2 separate regions of the Homo sapiens genome follow, and region 1 is linked to region 2. The links are contacts of gene promoters, found by promoter capture Hi-C in human tissues and cell types (Jung and others, 2019). All regions are on one chromosome and are shown on one strand. Each heading gives the region's core, a stretch centred on a gene start or on the middle of the fragment in contact. The rest is flanking DNA. Distances are from core to core; before and after follow the strand shown.

Evidence for each region. Contacts are between HindIII fragments. The study calls those that stand out against the background at their distance.
Region 1: a fragment that was not itself captured here is called in contact with the fragment with the promoter of TAF1L in region 2 in 2 of the 25 tissues and cell types used here (dorsolateral prefrontal cortex and lymphoblastoid cells).

Annotation. Positions count from the first base shown.
Region 1 is chr9:32,715,878-32,720,600 of GRCh38, reverse strand. The region is part of intron 4 of LOC105376017 (a long non-coding RNA gene); the gene reads left to right. Among named protein-coding and RNA genes, the nearest start is that of TMEM215, 65 kb to the left of the region's middle. The HindIII fragment of the contact is 3,870 bases long and covers 1-3,511 here.
Region 2 is chr9:32,633,469-32,638,255 of GRCh38, reverse strand. It overlaps TAF1L (TATA-box binding protein associated factor 1 like), which reads left to right and starts at 2,587. Exons shown (of 1, transcript NM_153809.2): 1 at 2,587-4,787. The coding sequence starts at 2,677. The HindIII fragment of the contact is 9,470 bases long and covers 1-4,787 here.

The sequences.
Region 1 (4,723 bases), core at 327-2,826, 83 kb before region 2:
TCTACTCTTTTCACTTTCAGTTTGGGGAACACTCACTGACTTTTCTTAAGAAACTTGATTGTCTAGGATAAATAGCTAATGTATGCAGGGCTTAATACATAGGTGATGGGTTGACAGGTGCAGCAAACCACCATGGCACACATTTACCTGTGCAACAAACCTGCACATCCTGCACATATATCCCGGAACTTAAAAAATAAAATAAAATTTAAAGAAATAAATGATTTTTAAAATAAAATAAATCATTTAAACAGCAAAAAAAAAAAAAAAAAGGAAAAAGAAAGAAACTTAATTCTCCTTTGCCTGGTGCGTAATAAACTCAGCTTCAATTTGAGACTACATTGGTAGTCTTTGTGTTGATTCAGTGACAGTGGACACTGGTTGCTGTATTAATTACCCAAATCTCAACCAAGATGGGGCTGGTACATTTAAAAAAGCTTTACTGAAGAATGGGGTAACAGGAGGAATGACACAGTCAGGGTGCCGTAAAACTGGACACCACGTGTGTCTTTTCTCTGGTCCTCTGGTCATGCTCTTCCACAGGGAACACCTCCTGGTGCTGGATCCCCTCACAACCAGCCTGAGGCCTTGCAGGGGCTCATTTGCTTCCCTACAATAGGAGTGCTTTTACGAGTTCCTGCCTATCACAGATCCAGAGCCCCACTCCACTAACACCCAGGGGAACACTCCATTTCTCCTCATCTCAGTCTACCGCCAGTCTCCCAGTAGTATAGTAATCCTGGGAATGCCTCTGTATCATCAATAAAGACTACCCTTACGTTCCATGCAGAGCAGTTGAGCCCTGATTGCCTCTAAAAACTTTCCATTGCAATTGAAGATGATAGCCTCATGTTTGCATAAGGGGTCATTAAAGTTTTCCAGACACAAGAAACAATGTTCCCTCAGAGGTGAATCTAAGCCTCCATTTTTAAAGAACTAGAAAAACTGTTGATTTTTTTTTTAAATCCCTCTCCCTCCCTTCTGTCCTCTCTTTTTCTCTTTCTCCCGCCCACCACCCCCGCCCAACACACACACACTTTGGAGTCTAGTTGAGAGCATCTATCTATTTATACCTACAAAGACTCATTTGCTTGTACCATGTGCCAGGCACAGTACCCAGAACAGAGGAGGCAGAGAGAAATAATCCTTGCCCTCAGGAAGCTCATGGTGTAATAGGGGATCCCCAGTGACAATTGGGGGATAAGAACAATAGAAGGCTGGGTGTGGTGGCACACACCTATAATCCCGGAGGATTGCTCCCAGGAGTTTGAGCACCCTGGGCCACATGGTGAGACATCGTCTTTACAAAAAATAAAATTAGCCAGGTGTACTGGTATGTGCCTGTAGTCCCAACTACTAGGGAGGCCAAGGTGGGAGGATTGCTTGAGCCCCAGGAGGTTGAGGCTGAGCTCGTGCCACTGCACTCCAGCCTGGGCAACAGAGCAGGACCCTGTCTCATATAAAAACAAAGCAAAACAAAACAAAATAGAACAATAGAAAATTGGCATATAAGATGCAGAAACAACAAGGAGCAGGTAAGTCAGAAAAGGCTTCCAGGAAGAGGCTGCCTGTGAGTGAGTTTTAAAGCACAAATAAGAATTATTTGAATTATAAGAAGTTATGAGATGGATGAAGTGGGGAAAGATTTCAGGCAGTGGAAACAAAGGCAAAGATATGGCAACAAGAAATAGGATGCTACTAATTACTAGGGTTGGGTAAGCCTAAAGTGCAGGTTCAATGCAGGGGGAGTGGGAGGATCTGAACCCTCTAAGGATGCTGGATTTTATTTCCCAGATGATGAGGAAAACTTGAAGCATTTTCGTAGGGTGGTGGTGACACGATCAGAGTCGTGTTTTAGATCCCACGGACAGAACCTCCACTTCTGGTTGGAGGCTGTTAAACTGCAGGCGAGGATACCAATCAGAAAAATAGTCCAAGTGAGAGGCGCGGAGGCCTCAGTGGTGGCTGCAGGAAAGAAAGGGAAAAAAGAGTTGTGAGGACTCTTTGAGAGGTTCAATCAGTGGGATTTGTTCTCTGATTTAATGTGGAGGGTGAAGGAAAAGGAATCCAATGGGACAGCAGTGTTTCTGATGGGCGGTGCCACCAGCTAAAACCTGGAGCCCATGGAGGGAAGCAGGTGATTTGGGAGGGAAAGCGGTGGAGGAGAGGGGTGGAGAAGGGGGGGTGGGAGCTTTGCCAAACGATGAATTCTGGTTTGGGAATGTCATGAATCTAATTTCTTGCCTGACTTCTGAAGATGACTGGTTAGTAGTTGCACATATAGGTATGAAATTCAGCAGTCATGTATGGACTGATGATAGAGACTTTAGGGGCTAATTATAATCATTAAAGGGTATTTTACATTCCAAGGAGGAGTGTAGAGTGAGAAGAGAAAGGATAAAGGGCTGACTATAGAATCCTGAGATATGACACCTTCATTTTTATAATTTTTACAGCATCTCTGCCTTTATATTATTTATTTAGAATATTTGGCAAATAATACAAGGGAAAGCTAATCCATCTGTAAACTAGACGCTTTTCAGATAAAGCAAATCAGCTTGAGATACCAGACAAGCACATATCAGTGTTCAGTAAATATTTTTTGAATGCATCAGGATGAATACTCATTTTGCTCAGTTTTATAGGAAGCACCCTGAGAGGAGGGCAGCACCTGTGCTTTAATTTGCAGGAGCATGAATAGTACCAATGAGTGATGGCCACAGTGCTGCGTAAGAAGGTTAGAAGACAGAAGCAGCATGTACTCTAACCATAGCAACGAGACGGGGGCAGCAGCATCCAGAAAGTTATAGATCTCTTCTGAAGAATGTTTGCTGCCATGAACCCTTACAACTAAGCAGCAACAATATCCCTTTTTTCTGAATAGTAGAAGAATGACTTTGGTGATATGAAGGAAGGGGCGTTGGTGGCAGTAAAGTATGCATTGATTTCTTTATAAGATAAAGAACAAGGCACAGCCACTCTAGACCGTTTGACAAAGACCAAATCCTACTCTTCCACAGATTTCTGTGTATTCACCCAAATTATCTCCAGTGCCTCTGGTGTCCCACAGAAACACCCATGTTTTGTAGTTTAACCTAAGCTGCGATCTAGAATTCACACCAAAACCCACAGTATGAAATAGAACACTTCCATTCACAGGGACTCGATGGTCATGAAAATGTGTAGTGAGCAGCTAGCTCAGCTCCAGAGGCTGTGAAAACCAAAGAGTTGGAGAGATCCTTCTGACAGCCTTGCCAGGCAAGATTGGAGCTTTCCAGCCTCTGTAAAACACAATCTGGCATCCCACACTCTCACAGCATTTCTGATTTAAAGTTGGCTTCATTGCTAGAGGCTGGTATTGCCAAACATCATTTCTGTCCCAGAGCTCAGCTGCCGGACAGAAATGACCCTTTACAAAAAGAGCTGTCTCAGCAAGTAGTTCAGATGAGGGAGTGACATAGTGAAGTTCCAGTTGCTTTGTGCAACTTGCAAGCACTCCCCCAGGCAGTGTGTGACATGTAACATCCATCTCATTTTAACCTTTGGTTGTCTGTGGACCTCTGATTGCCCATGGGATAGTCAGAAACACAAAGGTAAATGCCACGTGGCTGAGATTTTGGGGGTGGATTACTGAGCATGCTCTAGGCACGCTAGCCTGTAGAGTTTTGTAGACTCCACTTCTGGTTGGACAAATTTTAGTGGTCACAACCTCTTAGGCTGGCAGTTCTTAACCAGGTGACTACTTGTTTTGTTAAAAGTACTGCGTTATCAATAGAGTATGAAAGTTTGTTAGAGGTTTCCATTTTTTCTTTGTCAATTAGGGCAGATTCAAAATTACCCTACAATAATGTCCCCCACATGCATATTCCGGCAGGTTTTTTGAGTGCAGCAGAAAGAGGTCTTGCCTTACAGTTACTCTAATAGAAATTGAACATAGTTCACAAACTATTATCTGTATGTGGTTGTTACAGGAAAGGGTCCAGATCCAGACCCCAAGAGACAGTTCTTGGATTTTGTGCAAGAACTTGGTGCAAGTCCATGGAATAAAGTGAAAGCAAGTTTATTGAGAAAGTAAAGGAATAAAAGAATGGCTACTCCATAGACAGAGCAGCCCAAAGGCTGCTGGTTATCCATTTTTATGGTTATTTCTTGATGATATGCTAAACAAGGGGTGGATTATTCATGCCTCCCCATTTTATTTTACTGTTTTATTTTTTATTTTTTTATCATATTTTGTTTTAGGGTACATGTGCACATTGTGCAGGTTAGTTACATATGTATACATGTGCCATGCTGGTGCGCTGCACCCACTAACTTGTCATCTAGCATTAGGTATATCTCCCAGTGCTATCCCTCCCCCCTCCCCCCACCCCACCACAGTCCCTGGAATGTGATATTCCCCTTCCTGTGTCCATGTGATCTCATTGTTCAATTCCCACCTATGAGTGAGAATATGCGGTGTTTGGTTTTTTGTTCTTGCGATAGTTTACTGAGAATGATGATTTCCAATTTCATCCATGTCCCTACAAAGGACATGAACTCATCATTTTTTATGGCTGCATAGTATTCCATGGTGTATATGTGCCACATTTTCTTAATCCAGTCTATCGTTGTTGGACATTTGGCTTGGTTCCAAGTCTTTGCTATTGTGAATAGTGCTGCAATAAACATACGTGTGCATGTGTCTTTATAGGAGCATGACTTATAGCCCTTTGGGTATATA
Region 2 (4,787 bases), core at 1,338-3,837:
TTTATATTACAGAAAGGGTAAATATCCCTAACATATTAAAATCTTATTTAAAAAGAGGAGAAAGGACTAACAACCTTAGAAAAATGAATAAGAGATATGAACAAATACACAGGAAAAATAAATGCAAATTCCCCTTGGTTGAAAAGATACTCCATGTCATCCATGATAAGATAAATGAAATTAAAACTACAGCGAGATACTGTCTTATACCTATGAGATCAGCAAAAATTCAAAAATTTGACAGCATGCTATGTTGTTGAGGCTTGGGGAAACTGTCCCTCTCATTCATTGCTGTTAGGAATGAAAAATGGTTCAACAACTAAGGAATAGAACTTGGCAAATACCGATGAAATAATATCTGCATTTACTCTTTGACCCACTAGTCCCTCTTGCAGGAATCTATCCCAAAGATGTGCTGACCAAAAAAAAAAAAAAAAAAAAAAAAAGGATGCATACATAAGACTTTTCACTGCAGCACTGTGTGAAATAGCAAAGCCTGGAAACAACTCAAATACCTGTCAATGGGTGGCTGGTATACTCACCCAAGTGATAACTCTACAGTTATCAAAAATAAGAAGGAATCTCTTTATAAACTACTACAGAGTAATCTCCAAGATATATTTTTAAGCAAGAAAAGCAAGGTGGAAAAGTAAATACTATTGGTTATCTAAAAGGAAGAGATAAAAACATGCATACACAATTGATAGTATTTAAAAATAGAATGATAAATAATAACACTTTAAATATGATTACTTATAGAGGATTACATAAACAACCACCCAAGATAATCTGCAATCAAATTGTGAAAATCATTAAGACAGTTGACTAGACTAGTCCCAGCTACTTGGGGAGGCTGAGGCAGAAGAATCACTTGAACCTGGAGACAGAGGTTGCAGTGAGCCAAGATCGCGCCACTGCACTCCAGCCTGGGCAACAGAGCAAGACTGTCTCAAAAAAAAAAAAAAAGCATAAAGGAAAAATTTGATAAGATTGAAATTTTAAAATATATATTAAAGACACCATTAAAATAGATTAAAAGACATGTCACAGACTGGGGAAGTTATTTGCAAGCAAATCCATAATATATGAAGAACTGTTATACATTAAAGAAAAGACAGATAACCTAAAGATACTATAAAAATTAGATAAAAATATATGAAAAGGCAATTGACAGAAGAGGAAAAACAGTTGGTCAATAAGTGTATGAAAAGTTAGCCTTCAGTAGCAATCAGAAAAATACAAATTAAAACCACATTATCATTATACATTTATTAGAAATGAACAAAAATTAACAAATGACAATGCTAAGTGTTAGAATGGATGTGGAGAGGTGAGAACTTTTATACACTGCTGTTAGGTATGTAAAATGGTACAACTACTTTGGAGAACAATTTAGTAATAGCAAGTGTAGTTGAAAAAGCATATATTGTAAAATCTAGTAATTCCACTCCTAGATGTATACCCTGGAGAATGTGTCCTACATATGCTCAAGGAATCATATACATTATTTATAAGAGGAACAATTTGGGAACAATTTAAATGAACAAACATAGGAACATAGATAAATTGTAGCATAACCATACTGTAGAACACTATAGAGCTATAAAAATAGAATTGAATGCATCAACATAGTTGAATATCATAAACATAAATTTTATCCAGAAAACATTCTGGCTAAGAGTACATACAGTAAGGTCGGGTTTGGTGGCTCTTGCCTGTAATCTCAGCACTTTGGGAGGCCAAAGTGGGAGGATTGCTTGAGGCCAGGAGGAGTTTAAGACCAGCTTGGCTAACATAGTGAGATCCCATCTCTTAAAAAAAAGGAAGGGGGAAAAAAAAAACGAGTACACACAGTAAGATGCCTTTTATACAAAATTGTAAAGCATGACAATGCTATAGATTATTTGGAGAAGCATACATATGCAGTTCATGTATAAAGAGATTTACAGAGGCTGGGTGCAGTGGCTCACGCCTGTAATCCCAGCACTTTCGGAGACAGAGACGGGCTGACCATCTGAGGTCAGGAGTTTAAGACTAGCCTGGCCAATATGGTGAAATCTTGTCTCCACTAAAAATACAAAAAATTAGCCAGGCATGGTGGCTCATGCCTGTAATCCCAGCTACTGTGGAGGCTGAGGCAGGAATCTCTTGAACTCCTGAGGTGGAGGTTTCAGTGAGCCGAGATTGTGCCACTGCACGCCAGCCTGGGGCGACAGAGCAAGACTTTGTCTCAAAAACCAGCAAACAGGCTGGGCGCGGTGGCTTACGCCTGTAATCCCAGCACTTTGGGAGGCCGAGGCAGGCGGTTCACGAGGTCAGGAGATCGAGAGGCTAACATGGTGAAACCCCGTCTCTACTGAAAATACAAAAAAAAAAAAATTAGCCAGGCGTGGTGGCGAGCGCCTGTAGTCCCAGCTACTCAGGAGGCTGAGGCAGGAGAATGGCGTGAACCCAGAAGGCAGAGCTTGCAGTGAGCCAAGATCGCGCCACTGCACTCCAGCCTGGGCGACGTTGCGAGACTCCGTCTCAAAAAAAAAAAAAAAAAAAAGTTTTGCGGGTTTTTCCCCCCGCCCCTTTGCCCCCTCCCCCCGCCTTTATTCAGCTTCCGGTAGACGCTGGTAGGGTAAGGGAGCTAAGTAGATCACTTCCGGGCGACTGTTGTTTTATTTCCGGTTTATGCGACCCGGCTGCGATTTGCTGCTGAGGGCAGCAGCTACCGTCACTGCCGCCATCATGTCAGACTCGGACAGCGAGGAAGATTCATCTGGAGGTGGCCCATTTACTTTAGCGGGTATCCTTTTCGGCAACATCAGTGGAGCGGGGCAGCTGGAGGGGGAAAGCGTCTTGGATGATGAGTGTAAGAAGCACTTGGCAGGCTTGGGGGCTTTGGGGCTGGGCAGCCTAATCACTGAACTCACGGCAAATGAAGAATTGACTGGGACTGGCGGTGCCTTGGTAAATGATGAAGGGTGGATTAGGAGTACAGAAGATGCTGTAGACTATTCAGACATCAATGAGGTGGCAGAAGATGAAAGCCAAAGACACCAGCAGACGATGGGGAGCTTGCAGCCCCTTTACCACTCGGATTATGATGAAGATGACTATGATGCTGATTGTGAAGACATTGATTGCAAGTTGATGCCTCCTCCACCTCCACCCCCGGGACCAATGAAGAAGGATAAGGACCAAGATGCTATTACCTGTGTGTCTGAAAGTGGAGAAGACATCATCTTGCCCTCCATCATTGCCCCTTCCTTTTTGGCCTCAGAGAAAGTGGATTTCAGTAGTTACTCTGATTCAGAATCTGAGATGGGACCTCAGGAAGCAACACAGGCAGAATCTGAGGATGGAAAGCTGACCCTTCCATTGGCTGGGATTATGCAGCATGATGCCACCAAGCTGTTGCCAAGTGTCACCGAACTTTTTCCAGAATTTCGACCTGGAAAAGTGTTACGCTTCCTACATCTTTTTGGACCAGGGAAGAATGTCCCATCTGTTTGGCGGAGTGCTCGGAGAAAGAGGAAGAAGCATCGTGAGCTGATACAGGAAGAGCAGATCCAGGAGGTGGAATGCTCAGTAGAATCAGAAGTCAGCCAGAAGTCTTTGTGGAACTATGACTATGCTCCACCACCACCCCCAGAGCAGTGTCTCGCTGATGATGAAATCACGATGATGGTTCCTGTGGAGTCCAAATTTTCCCAATCAACTGGAGATGTAGATAAAGTGACAGATACCAAACCAAGAGTGGCTGAGTGGCGTTATGGGCCTGCCCGACTGTGGTATGATATGCTGGGTGTCTCCGAAGATGGCAGTGGGTTTGACTATGGCTTCAAACTGAGAAAGACACAACATGAACCTGTGATAAAATCTAGAATGATGGAGGAATTTAGGAAACTTGAGGAAAGCAATGGCACTGATCTTCTGGCTGACGAAAACTTCCTGATGGTGACACAGCTGCATTGGGAGGATTCTATCATCTGGGATGGGGAGGATATCAAACACAAAGGGACAAAACCTCAGGGTGCAAGCCTGGCAGGCTGGCTTCCTTCTATTAAGACTAGGAATGTAATGGCTTACAATGTTCAGCAAGGTTTTGCACCCACTCTGGATGATGACAAACCTTGGTACTCCATTTTTCCCATTGACAATGAGGATCTGGTGTATGGACGCTGGGAGGACAATATCATTTGGGATGCTCAGGCCATGCCCCGGCTGTTGGAACCTCCTGTTTTGGCACTTGATCCCAATGATGAGAACCTCATTTTGGAAATTCCTGATGAGAAGGAAGAGGCCACCTCTAACTCCCCCTCCAAGGAGAGTAAGAAGGAATCATCTCTGAAGAAGAGTCGAATTCTCTTGGGCAAAACAGGTGTCATCAGGGAGGAACCACAGCAGAACATGTCTCAGCCAGAAGTGAAAGATCCATGGAATCTCTCCAATGATGAGTATTATTTCCCCAAGCAACAGGGTCTTCGGGGCACCTTTGGAGGGAATATTATCCAGCATTCAATTCCTGCTATGGAATTATGGCAGCCCTTCTTTCCCACCCACATGGGGCCCATCAAAATCCGGCAGTTCCATCGCCCACCTCTGAAAAAGTACTCATTTGGTGCACTCTCTCAGCCAGGTCCCCATTCAGTCCAACCTTTGCTAAAGCACATCAAAAAAAAGGCCAAGATGAGAGAACAAGAGAGGCAAGCCTCAGGTGGTGGAGAGTTGTTTTTTATGCGCACACCTCAGGATCTCACAGGCAAAGATGGAGATCTTATTCTTGCAGAATATAGTGA